7 separate regions of the Homo sapiens genome follow, and regions 2, 3, 4, 5, 6 and 7 are each linked to region 1. The links are contacts of gene promoters, found by promoter capture Hi-C in blood cells and fetal thymus (Javierre and others, 2016). All regions are on one chromosome and are shown on one strand. The core of a region is centred on a gene start or on the middle of the fragment in contact, and the rest is flanking DNA. Distances in the headings are between cores, read along the strand shown.

What was found. The method cuts DNA at HindIII sites, captures the fragments that hold promoters and counts their contacts. A CHiCAGO score of 5 or more calls a contact.
Region 2: a fragment that was not itself captured here is called in contact with the fragment with the promoter of NR2F2 in region 1 in 4 of 17 cell types (M2 macrophages, M0 macrophages, erythroblasts and 1 more); the score reaches 9.1 in M2 macrophages.
Region 3: a fragment that was not itself captured here is called in contact with the fragment with the promoter of NR2F2 in region 1 in 1 of 17 cell types (endothelial precursors); the score reaches 8.8 in endothelial precursors.
Region 4: a fragment that was not itself captured here is called in contact with the fragment with the promoter of NR2F2 in region 1 in 1 of 17 cell types (endothelial precursors); the score reaches 8.5 in endothelial precursors.
Region 5: a fragment that was not itself captured here is called in contact with the fragment with the promoter of NR2F2 in region 1 in 1 of 17 cell types (endothelial precursors); the score reaches 10.3 in endothelial precursors.
Region 6: a contact is called between a fragment that was not itself captured here and the fragment with the promoter of NR2F2 in region 1, in 1 of 17 cell types (endothelial precursors). The highest score is 5.2, in endothelial precursors.
Region 7: a contact is called between a fragment that was not itself captured here and the fragment with the promoter of NR2F2 in region 1, in 1 of 17 cell types (endothelial precursors). The highest score is 5.3, in endothelial precursors.

What each region holds. Positions count from the first base shown.
Region 1 is chr15:96,327,742-96,332,063 of GRCh38, forward strand. It overlaps NR2F2 (nuclear receptor subfamily 2 group F member 2), which reads left to right and starts at 2,959. Exons shown (of 3, transcript NM_021005.4): 1 at 2,959-4,322. RefSeq lists a silencer at 2,712-2,851. The HindIII fragment of the contact is 6,805 bases long and covers 1,130-4,322 here.
Region 2 is chr15:97,750,544-97,754,899 of GRCh38, forward strand. All of the region lies in intron 1 of LINC00923 (long intergenic non-protein coding RNA 923), which reads right to left. Among named protein-coding and RNA genes, the nearest start is that of LINC00923, 120 kb to the right of the region's middle. The HindIII fragment of the contact is 4,064 bases long and covers 1-3,687 here.
Region 3 is chr15:95,017,650-95,022,002 of GRCh38, forward strand. It overlaps LOC105370989 (a long non-coding RNA gene), which reads right to left and starts at 477. Exons shown (of 2, transcript XR_932645.2): 1 at 352-477. It overlaps LOC105370991 (a long non-coding RNA gene), which reads left to right and starts at 1,268. Exons shown (of 12, transcript XR_002957693.2): 1 at 1,268-1,394; 2 at 3,395-3,570. The HindIII fragment of the contact is 4,026 bases long and covers 1-3,535 here.
Region 4 is chr15:94,604,967-94,609,339 of GRCh38, forward strand. No RefSeq gene overlaps it. Among named protein-coding and RNA genes, the nearest start is that of LINC02852, 18 kb to the left of the region's middle. The HindIII fragment of the contact is 1,625 bases long and covers 2,282-3,906 here.
Region 5 is chr15:95,321,965-95,325,716 of GRCh38, forward strand. All of the region lies in intron 1 of LETR1 (lymphatic endothelial transcriptional regulator lncRNA 1), which reads right to left. Among named protein-coding and RNA genes, the nearest start is that of LETR1, 3.3 kb to the right of the region's middle. The HindIII fragment of the contact is 4,883 bases long and covers 1-3,752 here.
Region 6 is chr15:95,173,135-95,177,493 of GRCh38, forward strand. No RefSeq gene overlaps it. Among named protein-coding and RNA genes, the nearest start is that of LETR1, 150 kb to the right of the region's middle. The HindIII fragment of the contact is 1,499 bases long and covers 683-2,181 here.
Region 7 is chr15:95,276,641-95,280,689 of GRCh38, forward strand. It overlaps LETR1 (lymphatic endothelial transcriptional regulator lncRNA 1), which reads right to left. Exons shown (of 4, transcript NR_034095.1): 4 at 2,648-3,456. Among named protein-coding and RNA genes, the nearest start is that of LETR1, 48 kb to the right of the region's middle. The HindIII fragment of the contact is 2,637 bases long and covers 910-3,546 here.

The DNA.
Region 1 (4,322 bases), core at 1,709-4,208:
GGGTCTGTATTCATATTGTGATTCAATCTGTAAAGAAATACAGCCCATCAGGCCACTTTCTGCAAGAAAATTATATTCCTGGGTGTTGAGTTTCTTTCTTTTCTTTTTTAGATTAGGGCAAATGTTGTCCCAACTTTCTCTAGGCAAATTAAAGCTTGCCATTCTTCTCATTATAATAAATTTACATCTGCAAAAAAAGACTGAGTTGGATTTTTAAAAAACAACAATAATATATTGATTTTATCTTCTCAGAGCTTTTTAACCTTAGACGCACAGCAAGTGAGCATCTCTGGAGAAGACATTTAAAAATATTTTTGCCCTTTTTTCTTCTCAGTCTGTAGTCTTGTCTCTTCTTCTATGCATTAAAATTAAGTATAATTCATACGGTGATTTTTTTTCTCCCTTGTAACAGCATTTCATAACTGAATGAGTCCTAAAATACAGAGTGAAACACCCCTGACTTTATGGCAGCCCTGTGATCATTTGCCTAGCAGGCTCCAATTTGTTAAGATATGGTTGGGAAATTATTCCATTTTAATCTAAGGCCATCACGCATACTTCAAATTCCAAAAATCTCTAAGTGGACTGGGGAAGCTCTTCCTCCTCGATATTGTTCCTTCCCATGTTTGTAAAAGGTAATCTGCTATGGAAGTCTCATTCAGGAGGTGAGATGAAGATTTCCCTATAATCAATTATTTTCATCCTCTATTGAGATGGGAATGCCCATTAGATTTCCTATCTCAACCCCAGTCTCATCACATCTCAGCTGAGCTTGTCCCGAATCTGCTGACATTTGTAACATTAGCAATTCCTGAATCATAGAGGTTGGAAGGGAAAACAACAACAACTACCAAAAACCTTCTCCTGTGTAATGATTTCTTTTCCATCCTTCTTATCCTCTTTAGGAGAAAGTTATATTGTGTCTCTAATTAACCTGAAATTCTCAGCTTGGCTTCATTCTGTGGCAATCTTATTACACACCAGGTTTATGATAGTTCAGTGTCCACTATAGGTTTGCTGGGCTTTTTTTTTTTTTTTTAACAACTTTCAAATAAACCGAGAACCTGCAGCTTTAGTGAAATACGTGATTTCATCGGAGAAAGAGTGAGGGCTGAGGTTTCGGGAATGAAGCTTAAAGAAGATTTTTCCTTTCCTAAAAACCAGCCCCTATCTGCCCAGATCTTTAGTCCTTACCTCATATTCTGCCTATGTGTGTAAAGAGAATTGAATGTAAAATGTGATCTATGCATGTCAATTATATGTATGGTTTATTTTTAAAATATCTTTACCCTGTCAATTTTTTTTTCAGCTACCAAGGATGTTTTCTGTGGTCATCAATTTACTCTTCATATGTGTTCATTTCTTTCCTGGAGCTCAGCGTCTTTTGTGTAAAATATTTTAATTGTTCACAAACCTGGTTGGTTTACCGGCATGAGGTTTTTTCTTGGTGCAAAGTGTGTACAAAGGAGACACAATTTTCTTGTATAAATGTGGAATAATGATAATTCACTAACTGGTCATAAACAACAAGTTTACTGCGTTGGAATATAGTGTGTTCTGAGAGCAATTCTACATGTTTGATGTTTAAAACCAGACACCCTGGAATTCAAAGACACAACTGTCTCAATTATTTTAGCACATGGAGCAGAATGGCAATAGGCTATGAAGTTGTTCTTTTTGCAGTGACTTCTTGAGGTAGAATATGGCTTGGGTTTGGTTCTTGTGACCTGTACTAGTATTATTTCCCATTTGGGGCAGAATCTCTGGGTGCGTTTTAATGACTATATGAATGCTTAAAAGGAACTTGAGGAACAATGAAGTCCGTACTCAACTGTTCTATGACCTAGAAGCATAGTCGGTGAAGTCTTTGTCTGTGTACATTGACAAATGTGCATCTGATACATGTGCGCTTACATGTGTGTACAGAGGGTGTGCACAGGGGAGGCTGGGCGGCTGCCTCCTCCTGTCCATCAGTGGGCAGAGGTCTTTCCCCTCTCACCATGACTGGGTGTGTGGCAGGATGTTGGCTGGAGAGTTAGCTAAAACCAGCGAGAGAGGGTAAAGTTGAGGAAAATTGATTCTAATTGCATCATGACAATCAGATGAAGTCTATTTCTGCTTCTCAGCATCCGAGATGCTTTATTTGGGCAATTAAAATGTCAGGCCACATACCTGTGAAATGTTAACCCTACAAGGAATAAACAGAAACAGAACGGCCTTTATCCTCTGAAAAGAATATATGTCATATATATATGTCACCAAACCGAACAAGTGATCAGAGTTAATTAAGAGAAGGGTTTGCCATCACCCGGATCTGGCCAACTCTTTCGTTTGGAAAATGCCTACAAGCTCAGTTCGTGGCACCTTCCCACCCTCACTCCCTATCCCTCTGCAAAGAAACCAGGGAACTTTTCTTTGGCATTGTGGGTACTAAGATGCGCCAGGAGTCCCGGGTGGTGCGCGAGCGGCGGAATTCGTGACATCGCCAAGTTGCGAGAGGCAAACTCCCCGATTCCATCCAAAGCCTCTCGCGGAGCCTTTAAGAGACGTTGTGTGTGCGCGCTGCGCTAGTCTCCCCGCCGGGGCGGAAACCTCGGGTGCGGGATGTGGGGAGAGCAGAGGCAGCGCTCGCAGGGCCAGCACGGGCCCATCCCCCTCTCGGCGGCGGCGGCGGCGGCGGCGCGGCCACCCCGTCCCCGCCCCCCCAACCCCCGGTCCCCCGCGTGCCCCGCGCCGCGCCGGCGACGCCGCTCGCGCTAGGACCGGGCTGCGCCCGCGGCCGCCATGGCGGGGCCGCCGCAGTCCGGCCAATGACGGCGAGGGGGCGGCGCGCGCGCGCCTGGCCAGGCCAACCCCGGCTGCTGCCTTATAAGGCGCGCCGTCGCCATGGCAACGTGCGCTAAGTTGCAGCAGTCGTGTCAAAGTTCACTATATAGAGAGCTCAGTGAGCTGATCGCGGAGAAGCCACTTCTGCCAGCCCCGGCGCCTATAAATCGCATTCCCTCCCGCGCCCCCCTTTTTAGCATATTTGATCACTTTGATTCTCTGTTCTTTTCTCTCCGCGGTGTGTGTGTGCGTGCGCGCGTGTGTGTTTTCTTCTTCTCCTCCTCCTCTCCCCGAGTTGCCTCCTTTCTCCGGGTGCCGTACTGCCTTTTTTCCCCTCTTTCATTCTTTCTCTCCGTCTTTTTCTCCCCCCTCTGCGCACGAAGGATGTGCTTCTAGGTGGTGATCTGCCCTCCTCTCTCTCTTTTATCATTTCTCCCCCGCCGCCGGCGAGTTGACTCTTTCCCTATGTGTGTGAGGCGGCGGCGGCAGCAGCAGCAGCAGCGGCTCCGGCGGCGGCAGCAGCGGCAGCAGCGACTTCAGCGGCGGCGGCGGCGCTAGACGCAGCGGCTCCGGGCCCGACCCGGCGGCTTCGGCGGCGGCTCCGGCGGCAGCGGCGGCCCGGGCGGCCCGCAGGGAACGGCGAGCGGCCTCCACCCAGCGACTGCGGGCGGCGGCGGCCGGAGAGAGCGAGGCGCGCGCCGGACGCCCGGGGCAGGCGGCGGCGGCGGCGGCCCAGCGCCAGGACGACGCCGCGCAGCGCCCGACGCGGACCACTTTCATGCTGATTCCCCCGGACCCGGGCAGCGCTCCGGCCACTCCGCGGGCCGCCGGCCTCCGCCCCGGCCTGCCTGGCTCCCTGGGCGCGCCCGCACCCGGCGCCTCCGATCTCCTAGTCCTCCTGATTTCGATGGCTTTCCTGAATGGCTGACTGTGGGCTGCCCTGGACTTGGCCCCCGGACAGTCGCCTCTCCTCCTCCTCTACCTCCTCCTTCACCACCACCTCCTCTTCCTCCTCCTCCTCCTCCTCCTCCTCCGCCAACTCCTCGGCTGCACACCAGCTCTAAGAGCGAGAGTGAACGAGAGAGGGAGGGAGAGAGTGAGAGCGAGCGAGATCTTTGGAGAGATTTTTTTTTTTGCCTCCTACTTCTGTCTTGAAGCCAGACAATCGACTTCAGCTCTCCCTCCCCTCCCTCTTTCTCCACGTTCTGCTCCCACTCGCTCTCCTGTCCCCTTCCCCTCCCCTCCCGGCGGAAAGCCCCCCGAAACCAACAAAGCTGAGCCGAGAGAAACAAACAAAACAAACACACCGGGCCAGACAAGCCATCGACAAAACTTTGCAAAAGCAAAAACAAAAAAGGAAAAACTAACCAACCTCAACCAACCAGCCCCCGAGCCACCCGGGGCGCCCTCCCGCGCCCTCTTGCACCCTCGCACACACAAAAGGCGGCGCGCCGGAGCCCGAGACCCGGGGAGCCGCCGCCGCCCCGCCGCCGCCC
Region 2 (4,356 bases), core at 406-2,905, 1.4 Mb after region 1:
GAAATTATCTGAATAGCCTATTGTGTTTTTACAAGGATCAGATTGATAGGTTTTACAATCCATAAACAAGCTAAATATTCTAGGTATCAAATCTCATACACACACACACCCCTCTCTCCCTATCAATAATTTTTTAAACATGGACAAAGTAATAGATTGGATACAAAACTGCACAAAACAGTCTGTGTTCATCCCTCTCCAGCAAACTCTATGATACATAGAAACAATGAGTCTTTTTAAATTTCTCGATTTTGGCACGATTGCCCAGGATTGGCCACAGAGATGCCCTGACCTGGTTTCTCTTAGTAGGTTCACTATGTGCAAAGTCCTTTCCTCTGTAAGGCACTGCCTCTACCAAATGGCTCAGCTCTGGTCTCTATCATTCTGAAATCTCCTTTGTCTGCCTGGGCGCTGCCACAGTCTATTGGAAGGTATTTGTCAACAATTATATGTCTATTAAAGAGTAGTCAATCAGTGTGGGCCCAAACAGCCAGGCCTCTAGGGTCTAGCTTTTGATAGGAAACTGTCAATATCCCATCCAGTCCATTTCTCAACAAACACACAGTCACCTACCCGAAATCATTGTCGGAGAAACAGGGAAGGCCTGCTTTCATTGCTAGGTCTCCGACTTCTTCACTTTCTGATCTAATGTTCAGTTTGAATAAAGAGAAGCCTTTAGACTTCTGCTGAATAAAAGATGTATATTAAAATGCTATGTAAACTGAGTGCGGGTAGATATTTAATACAATTAAGAATATTATGTGAAGACTGTACGTGTAGGTGGCTGCAATTATTCCTGAAAATCATAAAACCAGAAGAACGTTAATAAAGGATACTTTAAATTAGCTTGACTGTAATTAATATCTATAAATACCTTCCATTCCACAAGCACAAAGTTGAGAGTTATTTACCCAATTTAAGACAAAAGGTTGTGATAGTAGCCAATATAGCTTCATGTATGTTCAATTTACAGAACTTACTGCAGATTTTGTAATTATTATTATAAAGGGCTTGTCTTTTCTTGAAAGAAGAAAGACTGGGAGTTCCATGTGAATGTTTAAAACTAAAGCCCCCCCAAGCAAAAACCACAATGTAGAGGACGGGGAGGGGAGAAGAAAAGAAAGAAAGGAAGAAAGAGAGAAAAGAAACCCGAAGTAAGGCTGTATCCTTTGAACTAGCAACTCCCCTGCATCACAGAGTACACTAGTTGTCCTACAACAAAAGACGGCATCAAACTCTCTCCACAAAGGCCTGAGACACCCAACAATATTTAAAGCAGATGTAGTATTTAGCATCTCTGCACTATGTAAGACGCCCTTTTAAGATCTGTTAGAGCCAGGGTTTATAAAATTTATGAAAACAAACGTTTTCTCCTTTCCTTCGAATGTTTCCCTGGGATTTTTGGACTTTCAATGAGAGAGATATATAAACGCCAAGCTGGCTGTCCCAGAGTTCAGGTAGCACACGATTAAATCCGGAATTAATGCAGGAATAGGTGTGCCCCTCGGACTGAGCTTCTTTTTATTGTACTCCTTCCATTTTCACTAAAGCCAAATAATTCAGATCTAGGGAAAGAGCATGGAAAGGTCAAAATGAAGCCCAAATGTCCAGTAGAAGTTTTATAAGTTGCCATAAAGATATAAAATAAAAATTAAAAGTACTGAAATAAACTGAGATGCCTCCGGTTTCATGTAGAGTTTTTGCCCATTTTATTTCTGCTCTTCAGAATCAAAACAAAGTAGATTCAAGGTGCATGTTAATCAAATTACCTATGTCCTATCTGAAGAGTGTCCCCAATCCCCCAAGAACTTGGAAATCCTTTTTGCATTTTATGACCAGAACTTCATGGCATTTAATGCATATTTAGTTTTGCAGGTACTGTTGGTGTTCAAATCCACTTATAGATACTCAAATCTAATCTACCATGTAGATGTAACGTAGACCTGCAGTTCATTTTAGATGCTCGGAGCAGGGAAATTATAAATGGACTTCACAAAATGTTCCAAGAGCATTAATAGTGAAATGGACTGGGTCAGGAACCCAAGTCACAAAGGGTCTCTGAGTAGTTACTTCCCCAGCAGACGGCCATCGTTGCAAGGGGCAGCTGATCTCCTTTTTTGAAAGCTCCATTATGTGTATTTACAAAATAAACAATGCATGCAAGTTCATGATTGTCATCATTAATAATAAGCATTATAGCAAACCGTTAAATAAATATACATGCCATAGATGTCTGCCAGACCCATCACTCCTTTTTCTCCTACATCAGATCCAAGGCATTGTCTTTGTTGAATTAAAAAAAAAAAATCACTCTTCATGAAACAGCAGCAACAACAAAATAGAATCATTATTTAAAATAACTCACCAATGTTCAAATGCTCGGATTTTAAATCAGATAAGTCAGCAAGTTCAGAGTTGGGGTGAGAACTTGCTCTCATTAGTCTCACGTTTGCAAGACGCAACCACAAGCCAGGAATGTAAAATGTTCTCAGTGCTTCAATAATTAACTATTTTTCAAAGGAAAAGACAAGTAAATAATATGATGTTTTATGAGTTCAAGTTGAACAACTTGTGTGCTGTGCAATACTTCTATCATGATACTCTCCAAAAAATTGTTTTATGAGCATAATATTTGCTTACTGACAAATTCTGTCACATCAAGAGATTTTTTTAAAAAAACGCAACGTACCTTTGAGTTTCAATTTGATAATCTAGAAATCAGTATACAACTGTTCAGATATCTTAGCAAGTTTCTTATTTAAAGCAAGTCTCTAAAAGTTTTACATTACATGTTCATTAAAGAAGTACATATGATTCCAGCCTCTCATTAAATAATATTCAATTTTAAAAAAAAGAAAGCAAGAAAAAGTATTCCTTAAAGCAGTACTTAACTGATAAAAATTTATATATTAAAGAACTAATGCTTGCATGAAAGAGCTTAAATTTTACTTTGTTACATTTTTAACCCATGCAGAAACACTGAAGCAAGAAAAAAATGTACAACATATTTTTATACGTTGTTTCTACACATATAGGAAGAATAATATATGTGTCTGTGTGTGCTTGCGGCCTGTGTGTGTGTGTGTACATATGTATATAAAATAGAAAAAGAACATTAGCGTTATTTGCTAAAATAAAAAAGAACATTTAGTCCTGTCTGAGTTTTTCCTTTAAAGGGTGATATAAAGATTTTGTAGGGAAAATTCATAGATGACCATTAGTTATGATTATTTTACTAGCTAAAGAAGAAATTCTTTGATAGTTCTAGATACCAGCACGTTACTTTCTTTTTACATAGAGCTTTTTGTTATGGGAGTAACAAGAAAAATTTTCAGACATTCGTTTCATAATTCTTGGCCAAATTTCCATCAGCAGAAGAGCAAATTTGTTGATGACTAAGCAGAGATTCAGAAAGCCCAGGGACCTGGCGAGGGTCACACAGCCTTTCTGTGATAGGGCGTTGATCTCCCAGCTTCCATTCACTCCATAGGGGAGTACAACTCTGTTCATGGATCCCATCAATTGAAATAAAAACGAGAGCGAGAAAGAGAGAGAAAGAGGGAGAGAAAATGAATGGGAAAAAGAACGTGCTTGAATGGACTGTATGGTTTGCATGAGACTCGTGCAGAAATTGATATTTTGCCTGTTTTTTTTGTCTCAGAGATAATCTTAGAAAATGTCTGCCTAAGCTTCTATCAGGGGTGTCCCAAAACTTGGAAATTAGCTTCTCACAGTCCTGGAGAGTCCCAAAATGTTAGCAAATTAAAACAATTTGTCTCCCTGGAAGCCCGGGGTATATTCACTGCTTAGAATTGAAGAGGAATAAGGGACCCACATGTGCTTTTGTGACTAACTGCTCTCCACAAACAACTTTTTAGACAGGCAGCCAGCCTAAATACGCTGCTCAGAGTTAGATGGGAAAAAGGTGTTGCTATGCTAGATACTTAAGAACCTAACACACAAGAATATCATGCTACACTTTCTGAAAAACAAAAAAAAGTGGGGAAGGGGTGGCATCAGCATTATCTTCCTCTTTCCAAATTAAACATCAACATGTTTTATTTTCCACATGTTTTGGACATACATCCACTTTTAAAGAATATTTATTAAGGCTTGTGTGTCTAAAAATACAGGCCCTTCCTCTATTACAAAATTCCCCAAAAAATTCAAAGGGAGAGAAAAATCTCACACAGATAAAAATCTCCCAAGCTGACCATTCCTGAACAAACTTTATTTTACAAACTACTAGGAAAAAATAATTAATTCAGCGCATTTATGAAGAATGCACACTTTTATTTTAAAATTCATAATGTCTAAGTACAAAAAGGTGCTAGTATAAAGAAGAAAATAAGATTT
Region 3 (4,353 bases), core at 273-2,772, 1.3 Mb before region 1:
ATTTAGCACATTTGAAATGTTTGTCATATTAAAGAAGGAGAATCCTTATAAACCTGGAATTGTAAATGTTTTTCAGAAAATCCCATGTTTAATCAGTCATTGAAATGATGCATTAAATTTGAATCTCCTTTAACTTGCATGACATCATGGCCCATGCAAGAGAGCTGAAATTAATCAAGATAATTCTGTTGTATGACCTACTTTGGCATTTTCATCTGATGGAGCCAGGAAATGGGCTGGCTAATAGTCCATTCTGGAGTATTCTAAGATCTTAGCAATTCCATATTTAAGGAGGTTAATAGGATACTAATTGGGGCCTAGGTGAAAAGTTCACAAGAAAAATGAACTCACCTGGATATGAGGAGTATGCACAGCCCAAAGCCCTCCCCTTTACAATGGCTCTTCCAAATGGTTTCACCTCCTAATTCAGAGAGAAAGAAAGCTCGCACCTTGGGAGACTCGCACAGCCAGCATTCTGTCTCCTGGTCCCTGGGTAACAATGGCTGGCCACATGCCAAGGTTGCAGGCCATTAGCAAGATCAGCATTCTGCCTCTGATGAAACGAAAGTAAAGGAAAAAATTCCAAAGGGGGAAAATAAGTGTCAAAAATCAAACCTTTGTAAGAGTTGTTATGAACTTTTAAGAAAAGCGCATGTTGTTAAGACTTAAGAAGTTCCAATGTTTAAAAATCAACTTTTATTCATCACTTTTGCAGAAGTAAATTAAACCACGTTTTATTGTTTATTTTTTCAACAAACATATGACAATCTTGGGCTTGGGTCATTGTTATTGACTAGCTAGTGGCTCTATTCATCAAGACCAATAGGGAAGATAATATTCTTTCTCAATTTTCTCTCCTGTAAATATTTGCAATAACTCCTGGGTGACTTGGAAAATTTATCAACATAAAATGCAGTGCTCTGAAATATTGCAGACTCTCTCTGTTGCGTTATAGCCCCCCTGGCAATGTTAGACTGTCCTAACGATGTCTCAGCATTGTCATTCCTCACCTTGTTCTCATTATAGTGTACCCATAGATGGCACATTGTGCTTTTCTTAATATTTTCTTAGCCTTTTATGTACAGAAAGGGTTAAGGATTTTTCTACCATAACGGCTTATGGCATGTCTTTCCATCTCTCTCTCAGTGTGCAGTCCATCTTCCAAGTTTCCAGAAGCGGCTGAGATTTTTAAAAACAGCTGTAATCTGCGGTCATTGATGGTGGAGTAGATTGTTTGCCAAACTATTACCATAACTGTCAACCGAAATCAGAAAAATAATCTCATTGTGCTGGACAGATGCGTTTCCTGCATTATTGATATAGTCACTCTGGAGTAATAGAGAAATATAAAGCATTGTTCTATTTACAAAAGGAGATTGGCCAAGTCCTTGAAAGTGAGTATGAGGGACAGGCACTTACAGGAAGTGAGATATAGTCAACTCAGTAAAAGTTATGAGTCAGGGTCAGGTGACCTCTATAGTCAGCAGAAGAATCTCAGTGCTTTCCCTCCAGTCTCCCTCCTCACTTCCAGGCCGGTTTTGTGGTTTGCTCTCAGTCTGAAGGTGTTCTCAGAATTTCTAAATACAGCCCTGTGGAATTTGTGATGCATGCTTTATCCCACACCCCAACAGTTGCCCCGAATATGCAAAATGTTCTAATGGGTTCATTACACACCTCTGGGTAGCAAGTGAATTGCTCTAGACCACTACATTGCAGAATAATTGAATTTGTTTATTTCAAGCAGATGACCCTCAATATCCCTCTGATGCAATGAGTTAAATATACCTTATGCTGAGTGGCTTTGCAAGAACGGTCAGTAGTCTTGTACGCTCAGCAATTGCTCCACCATAATTTGAGCTGTGAGTAATGCTGTGTGATTCTATTTGTTGAGCATACATACCGTGAAATACTAAGCACACCACATTTATTATCTCTAATCCACAGAAAACAAACTCCAAGGCAGGGATACCTTTTTAAATTTCCATTTTGCTGCTGAAGAAATAGATGAAAAAGGCTCTATAGATTTCCCAAAGTGACAGAGCTCTTAAGTAGTTGATCCAGGATTCGAACCTAGGCCTGACTCTGGAGTCCATCCCTGCTGGATCATGCTCCCTTCCATTTTATTGAGATATAAGCAGAAGTATATTATGCATTGGAATATTTATATATATTTAATGCAGCTCCCCCAAATATTTATAATAGCTCTACACACACACACACACACACACACACACACACAGAGCCATTTTTCTTACGGACAGATAGCCATCTTTCTTATGGAAACAAAGGGCAAAATCATCTCTGTCCTGCACTAAAGGGCATTTAATGAGACTGGGGTGGGGGTGGATTGGCAAGCAACCTTCTTAGCTCCTAAATACGTGCATCACAAGCACCTAGACTTTAGCAAGATAGTGCCAGGTGTCTCTGAACAGTAGTTCATGAATTCTGGCAACTCCACTCTGAGTACAAGGCAGAGGGCCAGGAAATCTAAATTCTAACCTGGGCTAGTCAGAGCCTCTGTGGTTTAGTTTTCTATTTATGAAAATGCATAACCCTGGCATACTTCTTAGAAACAGCATGCCAGTTCATATATAAGCATCCCATCAATACATTGTAAGCAAAAATTCCTGTGAAATATTGTGTAGTGTCCATAGTGGAAACTTAAATTCATATTAAAATTAATGGCCATATGATAATTAATTCGTGTCCCAAAGATCTGCTATTGTTGCTGTTTTTTTCTTTTGTTAATTACGATGTCCACAGAAATGGTTCAGCATTTTGAGATTCTGAGAGAAAAGTGACAGGGAGTATTGATGCAGTTGTAGGGCCACGTAGCACTCTTGTTGGGAGAGTTGTTGTATTTATGCTGTCTTTCTGGTCTGGGGACTAGGAAACAGGCGCAAGATGTATGCTGAAACTGTGTCTGGGAAGGGTAGGCTGTGGCATAGGATGAAAATCTTGGGCAAGGAAAATCTAGTCCTTCAGGGCCTAGACTATCATCTACACTTTTGGTTCAGATGTTCTGCACCCCACCAACCTGCCACCCCCATCCTCATAGAGGAAGCACAGTTCACTGCTCCACCTGGGGAGGCCCAGTTGCGAGAACCCTGCCTTGGCATCAGCCCACCTGGGTTCTACACTGGGATCGTGTTGAAACCCACAGCAAGAATGTTAACACATCACTGCCCATCTTGAATTGTAGTTCCTCAGCTGTAAAATGAAGGAGCTGATTGAACTGAGCTTCAAGATCACTTGCAGATCTGAGATTCAATGATTCCCCAAAATAACATTATATGACTCTTCTCAAATTATTGATTTTAATTCCTCCCTGGGTGGTGATGGTTTTCATCCAGCTGACGGTCCTATTTGTCTTGTACTCTTGTTTTGCCATCAGGATCCCCTGAAATGCTGGGCACACTGACTAGCCTCTTGTATAGAGTCTCAAGCCTGTGGCCAGAAGCAGCTGTGTGAAGTAGCCGCTGTGATGGATTGGGACCACAGATACCACTTTGGAAGGAAAGGTTCCAGAAACCAAAGCTTGGGCCATGGGTCTCTGGGAAACTGCAGCAGGTATGTTCTGCCTATCTGGCTGCTTTCTTCTTGCTGATCTATTGTTTTTCAGATTGAGAATTGGTTTTCCTGAAGCAAGAAAATAAAATAAACCCCACAAGTCTGAAGAGCATAGAGAAGAGACAGAGGAGCCATAAGCAGGGAAGAGAAAAAACACAAACTGATGTTGTATAAAAATAAATGAATAAATAAATAAATAAATAAATAAATCTTCAAACAAGAACCTTCCCCCTCCCTCCTACACACATCCTTTTCTCAGTTGCACACTGAGGTATCTTTCCTCTCTTCTCAAAATATCTTCTTAAAACAACATAAAAAGAAGGAGCAATTATTTAATATAACTCATTTCTAAAAGTGAACTTTCTCCTGTAGACACAGAACTGATGGAAAATTATACAACCGCGAAATGAGATGATAGCATGTCTTTTTAAAAATTTGTTCTGCCAATTATGTAGCAAGGGTTTAATTTAATAATTATGTTAAAATCTCCAGGTATTTATCTATTTTTTTCTTTAAGATGTATTCATTTTTGTTTCACATATTTTGAAGCTGTTATTAGTTAGATATGCATTTAGGATTATTAAGTTTTCTTGATGAATTGATTCATTTACCACTATGAAATTTCTCTATCTCCAATAATACTCTTTGTCTTGAAGTCTTTTTTTTCTGCTATTGATATATTAATAGCTAAATTATGTTTCTTGAAACTATTGATGGAAGAGAGTATCTTTTATTTGCACTTTTAGTTCCCACCAGCCTGTATTTATATATTTCAAGTATGTT
Region 4 (4,373 bases), core at 1,844-4,343, 1.7 Mb before region 1:
AGAAAAATGTTTATTTTTTACATAGCTAATGTCAAGAGCAAGTGACATTGGAGTTTAAATTAGATTAAGTGGCCTATGATGCTACTTAATTCAAACTGAGAGTTTAAAAAAATCTCACAAACTGTTATGTACTTGAAATGGAAAAGAATAAGCAAAAAAAGAGAAGGCTTTAAAACATGTTCAGTAACCTCTTCAGCAGACACCCGCATGAAACTTCATTAATCATTTAAAATGTGACAAGGCAAAGAAAATCTGATTGAATGACTGTCCAAATAATTATAGTTTATTCCTCCACTTTTTCTCATTGAAATCACATTGTCGTTTGAGTGGTCATCTTGACACGACTAATTATTGCTATTCAAGAAAAAGGAAAAAAGAGTCTCAAAATGTAGTTTCACCAATTCTTGCCATCGTAAGCAATCATGGGAAAAAGGGAGATTGTGGAGAATGAAAATTTGAATATTCCCTTCTCTACCCCTCCCTCTCTGTCTCTTCTACATGCGTTTCCCAGGACCTCTCTTGTCTCTCCACCCTCTCATCTGTGAGCTCTCCTGCCACCCTTCATCGGTCACTGGCCCATCGTTTTAGTCTTTTGCCTCATCAAGGAGAACCCGCGATCTGTTTTGCCCACGTAGGTAAAATGCGTTGAGAAATGTGCCTTGAGCTGTGGCAAAGGCTCGCGAGTGGTAAGGGGATACGGGTCTTGCCCAGCTCTGCCATTCAGGCCTGGGACCTTGAACAGGCACTCAGTCTCCCTTGGCTCCATTTCTTCCTCCATAACATGCTTCTGTTGAGCCAGATGACATCTCCAGTCCCTCTGAGCCCTAAGGGCACATGGTCCTATGTCTTTTTGAGTTTTCATTCCCAGTCTCCCACAGGAAACAACACAGCGAAGTCGACAACCTTGAGGTAACTTATTAGTTAACTGTGACTGCCCTACCCTTAGAAGAAATGGCACTTCATCAAAGAGGGGAATAGAGTCAACTCCTGTGGAAAATGTTCTGAATGGTGTGCTCATGAATTTCGATCTTTGACTGGAAGCCAATATGAGTGAACAGCTTCAGGACAAGCCTCTTACATTAATCACCTCATGACTTTAACTGAGAAATTGATGAATTGAATTGAATGTATACCTGGGTTCCCGGGCAGCAAAGGTGCTGATGGAACTGGTCTTCTCACCATTTTCTTTGAAAGAGAAAGGAAATTGCACATGGTCCATGCTCACATCCAGGAGACAAGTATTACATTGCTCCTGAAATGGAACCATTCCTCTCTGATCATTGCTTTTCTCCATGGTTATTTCTTAAACATAACTTTGTTTATATGTAACCCCAAATCAAAGAAAACTAAAACACCTCATGGAAAACAAAATTGCCTAAGTATAACACAAGAACAATTTGCTTTTCACTGCATGCAGGGTTGCTTCTCTGCCCTGGCTGGTTGTGAGATACTTCCAGGGAACATGTTTCAGGGTATGAGAATGAGGCCAGTGGCTGCTGATGTTAAAAGGACATGGCATCTGCACTAGGTTGGAGAGGGGGCTGGTTGCACAAATTAAAGTCAAACACATCACAGTCTGATCAGCAGACATGGGCTTGAGTGTGTTGTCTAGGTTTTTTCTTTTCTTTCCTTTTCTTTTTTACTACCTCCCAGTAACAGTGAGGCAATTAAAAAAAAAAAAAAAGACAACTCCATTTGTCTCCTATCATCATTTCTTCTCACCTTCCCTCATCTTGGTTCCTCACTCTATTTATCTGGGAACACAAATTACAATTGAATATGGGAGAAAATTTAAATATAGGTAGCTATTTAATCTGTCTTTGACTCATTCTGGATAACAGAAATTTTCACCCAAATGGAGCTGGAGAATATAAACCCACTGAGGAAAAAAAAAAAAGGCAAGTGTATCGCGTTTGGAACAAAATTAGGTCTCTTACTGCCAAAAATCAGAAAAATATGTTGGGTTTTTTAAAAGACAGATTTAGAATTTGATACAGACACCATTTCGTGTGCTGGAGGATTCCTCTCAATGGGTGAGTTCACCCATGAAGAGCTTTAATTACTTGATATTTTAAAAGAGTTCCCTATTATACAAGAGAGAGAGGAGAGACATTTGTGTGGGAGAAGCCTAAAGCTGTTTGTAGGAGGCAGAGAGTTTAAAAGGTAACATCTTTAATGAACAAATTTTCATTCCCACAGTAAGAAGCTGTTTTTGAAATCTTCCATGGCCTGCTACCAGGGCAGGGGGAATAGCTCCATGAGAAAGCAGGGTTGTGAGTCAAGCTTACACAACCAGTAACCACTTGTTTAAACCAAGCCAAATGACAAACCCCATCAAATTCTGTTTTCGTGGTTTTATTATTATTTTCTCACATTAATTTGTCCTAGAGAACACCGTGCGAAGGTCTCACAGCCCTGGTACAAGGAGGAGCTACCACAAAAACTCAGAGGGGCTGAAGTGGCTTCCTGCTCTCCTTCCGGCCTGACACTTCCTTTGTTCCTATAATCTCAAAACAGCTGTTTCCTCTGGAACCACAAACCCCAGCTGGCGGCCTCTCTACCTCCTGGATCCTGCTGCACATAATGTACATCAAATCTGAATGTTGATATGAAATCTTCTTCTTTTTCCCATCCTCCTCCCTCCCAAGCTCCCCGCCGCCCTCCTCTCATCCTGTATTTATGTTGGCCTTCACTGGGAAGGGGAGGGGAGGAACAGTTAGAAAAAAAGTGATACAAGCATTTCAGATCTTCCAAATGGCAAAGCGAATTATCGAAAATATTTAGAATCTCAGGTATCTCAGGTTGGGAAACATGTTTCCAGAAACCTCCTTTGTGAGACAGAAATTGACAGTCAGCCTTACTTTTTGTTTGCTTGTAAAAATCAGTACCTTTTAATAAACAATATATTAGTTATCTGTAGCAGAAACTGGGCTCTAATTTCACATAGGAGATGCAATGAGCTGTGCATGGTAGTTTTCCCTTGAAAACCATACGATTTTACTAATCGATGTCTTCATTGAAACTTTTGGGTAAAAAAATAAGGAAAAGGCTAGGTTCCACTCAGGAAAAGGTACTAACAAGTTTGGAAGAAACGATACAGAGAAGAAAATAATTGGAGAAAATGCAAGGCTGTATTTGAATCACTGCAAAACGATGGCTTGTTTATCATAGTCCTTAATGTGTTGATGGAATGAGGGGTAAGAAAAAGTCAAAGGGCCTGTGTATTAGGGAATAGAAGGTGGGGGAATGAGGCAATGAAGGCCCATGGGTGGAGGTATACTAGGGTTCTTCAGAGGAACAGAACGAATACGAGATAGATAAGTAAATAGAAAGACAGATAGGAAGAGATTTACTACAGGAATTGGTTCGCATGGTTATGGGGGTCGAGAAGTCCCATGATCTGCCATTTGTAAGATGGAGAACCAGGAAAGTTGGTGGTAAAATTCAGTCCAATTCCAAAGGAAAGTTGGTGGTATAATTCAAAGTCCCCCGTGAGAATCAGGGGGCAGATAGTGTAATTTGTGGTCTGAATCTGAAAGCTGGCAAACTGTAAATGCTGATATCTGAGGGTATAAAAAGATGGATGTTCCAGCTCAAGCAAAAGGCTCAAATTTGTCTGTCTTCTGCCTTTTTGTTCTATTCAGTCCCTCAAAGGTTTGGAGAAGTCTCATCCATGTGGGGGAGGGTCATCTCCTTACTCAGTTTGCCAATTCGAATCCTGATTTCTCTCAAAAACACTCTTACAGACACACCCAGAAAAAATGTTTTACCAGCTGTCTGGGCATTCCTTCACCAGGTCGACACATAAAATAAACCATCACGGGAGGGATGCCGTGTGGGTGAGCTGGGAAAGGAAGTCAAGACGATGGGAAATGACTTGACTAAAAACCTGGAAGGGAAAGCACAAGCTTTGGATTTGGGACAAACCTTAGAATTCATGAGTGCTGCCCTATTAACCAGAGCGCACAGCGAATTCCAGAGAAGGACATGCTCCAGGTCACTGAGGGCCCAGGAGCAGGCAGGAATAGAGGCAGGGCTAGTGCCCTGTCTCTCCTCCAGCATGCCCTTCTGCCTCTGGCGTTTTCCTCTCTGAAGTTTATGTGGGTGATTCTTATGTGGTGTAATGGTTAGAGGCCCGCACTTGAGAGGCAAAAGATCTTAGCTCTTATACTTATTATCCATATGATCTAAGGCAAGCTATTCTAAACTCTACGTGCCTCAGATTTTCTAACAATAAACAAGAAATAAATTGCATCTGACTCCTTCGGCTATGGTGATGATAATCAAGTACTTAACCTAATAGCTGCACAAAGACAACTCAAAAAATGTTTGCTTTATTATAATAATACTACAAACTATTATTATTATTAAAA
Region 5 (3,752 bases), core at 679-3,178, 1.0 Mb before region 1:
ATACAAATGTTATTTTGTATATTATTTACAAATTCCCAGGCTATGAGCTTAATTTATGGTCATCTGCAAAAGGTAGAAAACAAGGTTTTGAGTTGAGTCTCAACTTGCCTGTCACTAAATTGTACAGAATAGATGGTAAGATGGATTCCTTGTGAGACATAACTTTGCAAGCCCCCAGGCAGGAAATTCACCCACTAGGACTTGGGAGTCACCCAAGTTGTATTTGTGCATCCCTTAAAAAGCAAGACTGGGCCGGGCATGGTGGCTCACGCCTGTAATCCCAGCACTTTGGGAGGCTGAGGCGGGCGAATCACCTGAGGTCAGGAGTTCGAGACCAGCCTGACCAACATGCAGAAACTCCGTCTCTACTAAAAATATAAAATTAGCCAGGTGTGGTGGTACATGCCTGTAATCCCAGCTACTCAGGAGGCCGAGGCAAGAGAATCACTTGAACACGGGAGGCAGAGGTGTGGTGAGCCTAGATCATGCCATTGCACTCCAGCCTGGGCAACAAGAGTGAAACTTTGTCTCAAGACAAAAAAAAAAAAAAAAAGATTGCAAGACTTCCCTTTCCCTAGGCTCATCAAAAAAGTAATTAAAGTAAGTGTATGTAGCCGGGTGTGGTGGCTCACGCCTGTACTCTCAACACTTTGGGAGGCTGAGGTTGGCGGATCACCCTTAAGTCAAGAGTTAGAGACCAGTCTGGCCAACATGGTGAAACCCCATCTCTACTAAAAATACAAAAATTAGCCAGGCACAGTGATGCACACCTGTAGTCCCAGCTACTCGGGAGGCTGAGGTAGGAGAATTGCTTGAACCTGTGAGGCGGAGGCTGCAGTGAGCTGAGATTGCACCATTGCACTACAGCCTGGGTGACAGAGCAAGACAATCTCTCAAAAAAAAAAGTATATGTATAAAATATGTGTATATAAGTGCGTATACAGATATACCATATATAATTTATATATATATATAAATACATACATATCTTATGTATGTACATTTATAAATATCTGTAAATGCAAAGAGGCTCCAGATTTACCTTTTGAATAAAATCCAGAGTCACTACTATCTTAATTTTTGCATGAGTTATCTGCAAAGCAAATGAGAAGTAACTAACAATTTATTTAAATAGAAAGAAAATCCCCTCTGCTATTTATTATAAAACACTTCATTAATTTATCACCGGAGTTATTGTCTCAAACTCACTAATGTCTTCTCTGGGCTACTTTTCATAGATTATTTCTTGTACATTTGCAAGACGTTACTGAGTCCCAGGCAATGTCCCAGATGATCAGGGCATTTGTGGTACCTGGTATTTGGCTTCTATACCATGCTCTATAGACTAGATGGGGTGTGTCAAGGAAAGGATGTCTCCATTTGCCTTTGTCCTTAAGAAAGTGAGTAACTGTCTCTTTCCTTGCCTATTTCTTCCATGGAGAATTTACTGGCCCCAATTTAAAAAAAAAAAAACTCCTACCACACTCCCATTTTCTGTAAGTGCAATTAGTTGCAGGTACAAAATTTGGAGCAAAGAGGCCTCTCGTGGCCTGTTGTGCCTGCAGTTATCCAACTGTGGCTGCAGTTTTTCAGTGCACAACTGATTGCACCCACAAAAAGAAAGGCTAAACTTTGAAAATGGGTCCCTTTAAGACAGTTGGGGGATTGCATGCCTCCGGTTGGCAAATTGCAATCTTTTATAGAGGCACAGCCATCACTCTGGCTCGCACTGCCAGTCTGAAATCCAGGTTAGGCATCTTGCATGAGGGAGAGACCTGGCTGGAGAGCAGGTGCACAGGACTCTCTCCTCTCCGCCCACCACTTGCCCCCCTTTCACCTTGAGCTACTCATGGACTATGCATTAGTATTCAGCATTCCTGACTCCATCTCCTGTTTAGTTCACCAGTCACTCTCCAAAAGGGTTTGCAGAGAGAAGCTCAGTCGGTCACACTGTCAATATAACACATTTAACCAACTCTAAATTTGCTTTAAAGAGACAGCTACCAAGATTGACTTTTGCAAAGTGACTCACTCCACCACGCGGCAAAGCCGTCCGTTTGCTCTCGACTGTTAAGTGTGTCACTGAGTACATAAGAAAGGGTTTTGAAGGAATTCCAGTGTGAATCCACTAATTCAATAATCCAATACCATAAATTCAAGTAATGGATATTAATACTATGTTCAAAACACGCTCACAACTTTGATATCTCTCTTTCTCAAACAGACAGAGCATGCGTCGTGAGAGGCTCCTGATGAAATAATAAAACCCAATTTTCATCTAGAAACAAGAATCATTATAGGAGGATGGTAATTTACTTTATATGACCTTCAATTGATTATTCTGTGGCTGCCACACAAATATCACAGGAGCTATTGATCGTAAAACCTACCAAATAGATCTCTAATAGCTTTTACTGGGCAAAAATAATTATGCTTGCACTGTGGTCAAACACACATAAACCAATGTGGAGGTATTAATATATGGCATTATTACCCATCTGTCTGCTAGGCATGGAGAAGACCCTTCACGGGAACACTCTATGTCTAAGCTCCATGAAAGCTCAATATCCAAGCCAACAATTACAGCCAGTTACACAGAAAAATTGATTACCGTAACTAAAAGCTAGAGCTGGAGAGTAGAGGCTGCAGCTTGCTTAAGAAAAGTAAAATAATAACAAGAGAAATCCTAATTGAGGGGGAGTCCTGCTGCAGTGACTACCAGGACTCAGAAATTGCATTTCCCTGTGGTGTCAGCAGCCGAGTAACTTTTCAGAGTCAAGAGCTTTCTATCCAGCCTAGATCATGATCAATGATCAACACTCGTAAAAGGTCAGGGTGTCTAATCAAAGACCAGATCATCTATCTCTCAAGGTAAAGCGTACAACATAATCCAGAAATGTGGCGCTGCTGGCCATGGAGAGTGAGAAAATCCAAGGGAAAGAGAAACTTCAGTTCCACTTTGGTGAACAGGAAGAATGTTCTGCTCATACAAAATGTGCAGCCAGCCTTCTGCGGGCGATCCTCAGTGGCTCAGGTGGGCCTGAAGGGGATGAACAAAGGCCACGCTCTGAAGGGGGAGCTTCTCCAACATGCTGGGCTTCCAGGTTCTGATAAAAACATTTTAGACTTCAAAATGTCACAGCAAGTCTATCACTTGCTCTCCAATTCCCGAAACTCAGTATTTTAAAAAATAATATGTAAATATAAATGCACCAACAGCAAATAACAAAAATCCCAAACTGCTATCGAGGTGTTAAAATGAGGAGTGATACATTTTAACAACCAGAATGAATACACTAAAATGCTAATAGAACTGAGTAGTGGAAAAGAAACAAAAAGAGAGATCTTGTTTACCCAATGTGGGTTCTGTGCATATGCTTGAGTGGAGAGGGGAGACAACTGTGGGATGGGGGCATAAGTATATCCTGTGAAACAGAACAGAATACTATCCCAGGAATCCCGTTCATATATCTCATGAAATAGAATCAAATAATATCTCATGTAGCCCATGAAACAGAACAGGATTGGAATGCACAGCTGGATGGCTGCACATGCCAAGGATTGGAAAGGTTTTCCCAAAATACCTATGTCTAACCCCAAAGTGCTTCTGCCTCCACCACACCCCAGACCAATCAAACCAGAGTATTAATTTTGGCATTTGTATTTCTTAAAACAAAAAACAAAAGCCTATGTGAATCTCACATGAAGACAGGTTTGAGAACCACTAACTTTAAAGGGAGAGACCCTTTTTA
Region 6 (4,359 bases), core at 182-2,681, 1.2 Mb before region 1:
TTGTTTTATTGCACCTCACCTTATTGCGTTTTGCAGATATAGCATGTTTTTTACAAACTGAAGGTTTGTGGCAGCCTTGCATTGAGCAAGTCCATTAGTGCCATTTTTCCAAAACCATGTGCTCATTCTGTGCCTCAGTGTCAGCGTTTTTAACAATAAATTATTTTTTAATCAAGGTGTGTACTTTTCTAGATATAATGCTGTTGCACACTTGATCGACTACAGTATAAAATAAACATAGTTTTCATATGTACTGGGAAACCAAAAAATTGTGTGACTCTTTATTGCAATATTTGCTTTATTGCAATATTTGCTTTGTTGCAGTGATCTGAAAGCAAACCTGCAGTACCCTGAGGTCTGCCTGTCAATGCAGAGCTTACAGATGCACCTTCTTTTGCTCTCCACTTCCTCTATGAAAGAAATGCAGAATGTTTTTCTTCTATGCCACTTACTATGGGAATCAGGCACTTAATAAACACTGCTAATCAACAGGATGGAAGAATTAACTAATAAATCCCTTCACAGAAGCATGCCAAGTTTTACATGATGGCCAATACGTGACCTCCTTGGGAGACAGGGCAAAAAACTGAAGTTTCTCTTATTGGGGAAAGTTTCTTCACTCTTCTTCTTCTTCCTCTAGTAATAATAATATAATTAATTAGCATGGAAACTTCTTTTAAAAAGCTTCCATACACACTGATGAGAAAAATAAGTTTACTAGGAATAAAGCAGGGTCCAGAAGTATGAAAGTATTTATTTGAATGGTATCATTCCCCACCTCAGGGAGGGTATCTGTCATGCAGGATTGGTCTGGATAAGTAAGCTAAGGGTTGAAGTGAGTTCAAAAGAGCTGAACCAGGCTGGAAACACAAACGCAAGCTGTGAACATCACCTGGAGGAGCTCAAAGCACTTCAGTTCTGGTTCTTTCTCTAGACTTTAGAAGAACAAAGGTCACGAAATTTATTATTGGCAAGACTATAAATGTCTAATAAAAATTACTTGATTATGAGCTTTTTTTTTAAATTTCAGGTTTTACACAAATACCTAAGCAGAGAGTCTTAGATTTTTTCTTACTTTGAACATACTCCCCCATTTTCCTGGCAATATATTTCCATGTTTCTTCAAAAAGCCATTCAAGAGTACTTTAAGTAACAGTTTTAAACCTCCCCCTGTTAAGAAAATATATAAAATTGCTTAAGAGAAATGAGATCGCTTTCTGGCTCCTGTAACAATTGGGGATGATGTTTAACAGCAGAAACCCAGTGGGAGTGCTCAGTCTAAATTCTGCACAGCCATGTCAACAACCAAATTCCTAAGAATTTCTTCCTCATTGTCCCAGTGAGGCCGCAGCAGGATCAGCTACTGGCTGGGCTTTTTGGACACCACCCACCCCCGGCAATTTACAGCTAGCAAAGAGCTGTAGATGGAGTGACAGCTGCCCATGCCAACACAGTCACACAGGACAGGGCAGCTTTCCTACACCTGACTGGGCCTCAGCCTCATGGACAGGAGTGACATTACAGAACGTGCAAGGTCTCCAAACAGCCCTTCTCCTCCAGGTCACATTGTCACCTTTTTTGCTTGTGCCAAAGTCCTTCCCAGATGTCTATGCAACGGAAGTAAAATTTATACTCGTGGAGCCTTAAAATGCTGACATTCCATGTTTACAGGGATTGTTTACTCAGAAAATTAATCAGTTACGGTTTTAAATTTTAATTAAATAATGTTTTCCGGTGTTATTGCAAAACAGGCAAAAGCCCATAAAATGTATGTTTGACTGCTGTTGTGTGTTGTCTTTGGATCAAGGCACAGTCTTGAGATCAATCATGCATGATATTTTTGTGAACTTTTAACAGGACAAACTTTCACATAAATTTGGTTCATTAAAATATGTCCATCAAAATAAAAGTCATTCTGAGAAACTCTCTGGAATTTCCTTTTTCTTTCTAATCGGCAACAAATGATTTTGTACTTGTCCTGTAAATAAAAATATGGGAGGGAGGTAAGCAGACACTCAGTTGTGCAATAGACTGCTCTTTGCCAATGAACCAGAAGTAACTTCATAGGAAGTTATCCATTCCACTCACATATTGGTCAAGAGAGAATTATTGGTTCAGTGAACATTGGCATGGTGAAAATATTTTGGTTCCAGATGGTGATGTGTGCGAGGCATATTCTTAAGCTTTCTCGCATATTTTTCCATTTTATTTCTTCTTTACCTTGTTTTATTTATCTGATTATAAAACAAATATGTGATTCTGATACAAACAAGGAGAAAACTACATGAATTAAGAGATTTAATAACCTCCCTCTTAATAAATATGATTAACACATCTCTATTTTTGTCAGTGCATCTACTAACATCATTTATGTATTTATTTGCATAAAACTGTTACAAATGCCAAATAGCTCACCAAATGTGCATAATCTTTGTCCACGGAGGCTCAAAATCTAGTCCTAAAACTACTGATAATAGTTACTATAATATCTCAAGTTAAAAGAATATATACTAGCCAGGAAAATTTGCAAAATCTTAAAACCAAATTGATTTATCACAGAATATTTACCAGTATAAAAAGTATAATATTACATCTGTTTTATGTTATATATTGCTTAATGACTCTATTTTTAATTTAGTTTTCTTATGTTTTCTTTTTTGTTTTCGTTTTGTTGTTGTTGTTTGAGATGGGGGTCTTACTTTGTTGCCTAGACTGTAGTACAGAGGCATGATTATAGCTCACTGCAGCATCAAACTGCTGGGCTCAAGGAATCCTCCTGCCTCAGCCTCTCAAGTAGTTAGAGCTATAGGTGTTTGTCACCATACTTGGCTAATTTTTTTAACTTTTTTTTTTTTTTTTTGTAGAGATAAGGTCTCACTATGTTGCCCAGGCTGGTCTTGACCTACTGGCCTCAAGGAATCTTCCTTCCTCAGACTCCCAAAGCACTGGGATTATAGGCATGAACCACCATGCCTAGCCCTTTTTAAGGATTTCGCAGTGTATCCTAGAGCTCTTCTAAGGGCAGTACACATAGCACAACGTCATTCCTTTTCAATATAACCTATAATACCATTGGATGAGTCCTCTAGTCATGTCTCTACCTTTTGAAAAACAAATCTTTTCACATTGGCTACTGAGTCATTTGGACATGACCCTGGCAGTCTTTTATAATCTCCTTGATATCTGGTATAACAATATGTTCTAACACCATTTTGTATATTTCCTATGCCAGTCATGTAATCAGCCATTTCTCACATTGAAAAATAAATCTTTTCACATTGGCTGCTGAGTCATTTGAACATAACCTTGGCAGTCTTTCATAGTCTCTTTGATATCTGGTATAACCATATGTTCTAACATCATCTTGTATATTTCCTACTCCAGTTGTGTAATCAGCCGTTTCTCCAAGATGAGCTGGTTCCTTCTAGTAGGGAATTGTACTAAGAGACTGCAATCTGGGAGCTAGGAGTGCTCATTGTTACTGGGTTGATCATTGTGTCTGTTTAGTGGAAAAATTAATAAAATGTTTTGTTTATAGGATAAAATACATTAGGAGTTCTTATTAATACTTCCTATTCAAATTCAGGACTATGAGATTATTAGTGAACCTCGTGTACTCTGTTTCACACCAAGACTTGTGATTTTTAAGATCAGTAAGGATGACAGGATTAGAATATCACTTACTTGTTCTCTTTATTCCACATTACCCCCTAGATCTGTCTCAAAACAGTAATATTAACATGACCACCAAAAATATGATTAGTACTAACAGTTAACATCTTTTTGTAATGCGGTCCTTTTTGTCCTTAAGTTGTTCTCTAGAGGTGTGTGCAAATTTTGTATTTTAACAAAAATATATTCTTACTGGATTATTACGTAATCTGGCAATATGTATTAAGCTTCTTCTAAAAAGACCTCCATATCCATTAATCCAGGAATTATACTTCTAAAACTTTAAAGCAACAATAAAAAAATCTGGACAAAACTTTATTTTCAACAAAAATTTCCTATTTATTAGAGGGAAAAAATAGATGTAGCCTTCTGTCCAAAAATACAAAAGTACTTAATTAAATTGTAATGATTCATCCCTTAGAATATTATGCATGTGTTACAAATAAGTGAGAATAAATAACCAATAGAACAAAATGATGTAAGCATTTTTGTAGAAGAGGAAGAAAAGCAGCAGAAGAATGACAAATGTAAAGATATGAAAATCCCCAAATTACCACTGGAGAGCACTAAAGAACAATCTGAGAATGTTAGACGAAGCCAGGGAGGGGCAGGGATAGGGGTGGGGAGGATCAGGGGAGCTGCGGCTACCCATTCAAACATAATGGGCTAAGGTCTGAGCTAGTTGAA
Region 7 (4,049 bases), core at 978-3,477, 1.1 Mb before region 1:
TTGAGACACAGGATGTGAAAACATTTATTAATTGCATCATTGATATAAACATGTAAATATATTTTTGCTTAGTAATATATTTGAATATATATTAACAGATATATATGATTTTCTAATATCACATATATCTTATACACAGCCAAGTATGTTTCAAGTTCCTATTATCTGAAAGGATTAAAAAATAAGCTCCAAGTTGCTCAACAAATCAAATAAATTTTATATTCTGAAACTAATAGGCCACTGCATTAAAACATTTTGATAAGTATAATTACATTTTCTCTGATCTTTTAGTATTCTCTTACTTGGTGTGTGTGTGTGTGTGTGTGTGTGTGTGTGTGTGTGTGCTTGTGTGTGTGTGTTTCTGGCTTCCTTCTTTATTAAAAATCCTCATTCCTATTGTTTGTTTGCCTAATGTATGTAAACAAAAACTCTCTGGTTAAGCCCAATTAATACAATGTAGATTAGCATTCATTACTTACAAATTAAAATTATTTTTATTTAATTTATTACTAATAGGCCAGAAAAGCACCATTTATTCTTTTTAAACTCTTAAGTTCGCATTTCACTTGATTTTTCGTGCTAGTCTATAATGAGTAATACTTGTACTACAGAACAGAAGGATTCTGGAGAAAGATCCTCCAACTATTCTCCATCCCCCACAGATGCTGTGGACATTTGAGTAGACTTTTGTACACCCCAGCGGAGTTTTTGACTCACTCCCCACTCACAGCACCATCTGAAAAACAGCAACAAAATCATAAGCACAGAGAGGTTTGGACTTCTAATGCTACCGCTGAGTATTATCCTTACCCTTGGAATGTTCATTTTGACATTTTTATCCCTAAGTCATTCACTACTAATGTAAACATGAGAGCTTGTTAAAACAGTTCCCTGAGCTGCCCTGCTGGAAGCTTCTTTCAGGCTGGAGAAGTCATCTCACTGCATCTCTTTCTAAGCCCTGTTTTGGTCTCTGAGACTCACTACAGCCTGACTTCTTACTGCAAGCAGTACATTTCGATATGAAGTCTCATCAAATGCTTTTCTTTGATGGGGTACAGAATCCAGCATGTTTCCTGGCTGAGAACACTATAATATCTGCAGGGAACTTTCACAAGTTCGTTAGGCAAGACCTTCCCCATAAATCTAGCAGTTGGCTTTTCAAGGTGCTCTTTAGCTAGAGCCCACTGCAAACATGTCGAGTACTTCTTTTCACACCTGATTTCTTTTCAGAGTCCATGAACTCAGCAACTGGTGAAGCCACACTTGAAAAAAATTTAATGTCACTATTCAGTTGGTTGTCAGTTACAAGGCCTGAAATTCTTCTGGGGGCATCTCAAGATGCCTCACTCTGATTCATTGTCAAGAGGCATTATGGGTAGCTGAAAGACTGAGCTTTGGAGAAAAGGCTGTCTTGAGGCTCAATTCTGACTTTGCCACTGGAGACTTTGGGGGAGTTATTTAACCCCAGAAGCTCAGTTGTTCTCATACACACACACACACACACACACACACACACACACACACACACACACATATATATGATAGTACACACTATAGTTAGTGTAGATCTACGATTATTGTGAGGACTAAATAAAATTATGCATAAAGAGCCCAGCAGTCGTAGGCCCTTAATTAAAAAATAGAAAACACAAATCTATTAAGTAAACTTTCTATAGGAATTTGCTTTTTAAATCAGCAAACCTCCTACAGTCAGTTGTTTTTCTTTAAGTTCTGTCAGCATGAGGCTTTTGGAAATGTCCCTAAAGAGCCTCTTTTCTCCTTCTATTACCTTGAAGTTTGAAGTGATAGAAAGTTTTCATTGAGAAAAGTAAGGCCAGGTTCTCAGGATGGCAATGGTTTCTACCAATCAGACCTGAAATATATGCAAGTGACATAAAATGGGCTCTCATTTTACATAATTAATCGCTCTCTATTTTAAACCTAGACTATGTGGCCAGCTTTCTTTCACTTTACACACCACTCCCTTCTTTCCAGCCATCTTTCAGTGTACTAAGAATAGTCATATCCTAAACCTAAACTGAACTGGCCTCGGATTTTTTTCTTTATACTCTACAGTCTTTTCACTGCTCTAATTCTCTATCATGCCAGAATGTTATAAAGAAGGCATTTGTTTATTTGAACTAAGTCAATGACCTTTTCAAGCATTTTCATCATGAGTTCCATATTACATAGAGTACCTTCTGTGCATAATGAACAAATAGGATCAAATTCCGGGACCTTATAGGATAAAACTACATTTCCCCTCAGGTCTTCAACTTTTTAAGGAGATTCTCTGCAGAACAGATAATGTTGATATGATATTATGGAGACATATCATGACAGGGTAGCATTTTGTCGCAGCGGTGATGTCTGAACTTCAGAAGATCTGGATTCTGAGTTTGAACACACTGCCAAGAATGTGGATTTCTTTTTAAAGCATCCAGATGTTTTATGTCTGTAGAGCTAGGCTTTTGGAAGCTGTTTATTTGTTGGTTTATATCAGGACAAGAAAGAGTACATTGCCTTCTTGAGTCTCACTCAAGTCATTTCCAGAGTCTGAGAAACGTACCACACCTTCAAATACCTATTCTTGATTCTTTAAATGTTTTGTGTTGGACTTTGGTTGACGGTATCGAAGCTAGATTTATTTTAAAACAAACACACATTTTATTTTAAGCAAAGTCAAAATGTTAAATGCCATTGCATACAAATTAGGGAATGGAATGGAGGACTGGAGGGATTATTAGAAACTGACTTTTTATGACCTTGATATTTCCCCACAAACACCAAAGGGAAATCAACCAGGAACTTTATGTCCTTCCGCCTCTGTGTGCTTAAATGTGTCACGTGTTAGAGCTGTCTCTGTCATCTGTATACAGCTGCCTCTGTACGCAGATTCCACGATGACCATCAGTGATGGAGACTGGATTATTGAGGTGCAAGCTAATTAACTTTTGATTCATTTTTACTATCATTTATCTAAAAGAGTCACAGCACCGAGGATTTGGCTCCCATGGAAAGATTATGAACCACTTCACTCAGCTACCTTACTTCTGGAGATATTTGACTAGCTTTAGGTCATAAATAGAAAAACTTAGTGTTTCCATTTGGCAATTCATGTCCCTTAAGAGCACAGGTTTTTGACTTCGTTGACTGCTGTGTTCACAGTGCCTAGAAAAACACAGCCCATGCCTGTTGCTCCTAACGTATCTGCTCAGTGAATGACTAAATGCTTCAGACCAGTATTACGAATTGCCTCCATTTTGAGCATGAACATCAGATCCAGATTATCCAAATCACAAATTTTGTTATTGTCTGTTTGTGTGTTAAGATGAAAAATAGACTTTCCCACAATGATGAGTGAATTGTTCATAGAAATAGTTTGATTACGAGGAAGAGTTCTGTACTTGAAACTTCATGGCAGTGGCGAAGATGTCTCTCTCTCTGATGAGATCCCTGAGAAATACCATGAATTGGTATCCACCTTCTTACATATATTGGAATCTGTTCATACATTCAGAGTAGGCACTTTCCCAAAACATTTTAAGCTTTTATGTGTTTCTGTTTGTTTTTTGAGACAGAGTCTCACTCTGTCACCCAGGCTGGAGTGCAGTGGTGCAATCTCAGCTCACTGCAACTTCTACCTCCCGGGTTCAAGTGATCCTCCTGCCTCAGCCTCCCAAGTAGGTGGGATTACAGACGTGTGCCACCATGCTCAACGAATTTTTGTATTTTTAGTAGAGATGGGGTTTCACCATGTTGCCCAGGCTGTCTCGAACTCCTGACCTCAGGTGATCTGCTCGCCTCGGCCTCCCACAGTGCTGGGATTACAGGCGTGCGCCACTGCACCCAGCCATATTTTAAGCTTTTAAATGTTGTGCTTCATTATTTGATCCATGGGTTGTCCAGAGAATAGAGCAGAGTTTGGTTCAATTATTTTGGGGTAGGAAGTAGAAGGCACAGGAGTTATTTATGGTAGTGGCTTTTATTTTGTATTATTAAGTAAAACTTATAATTTGTAGTTAGAATAATAACTACTACCAGCACTG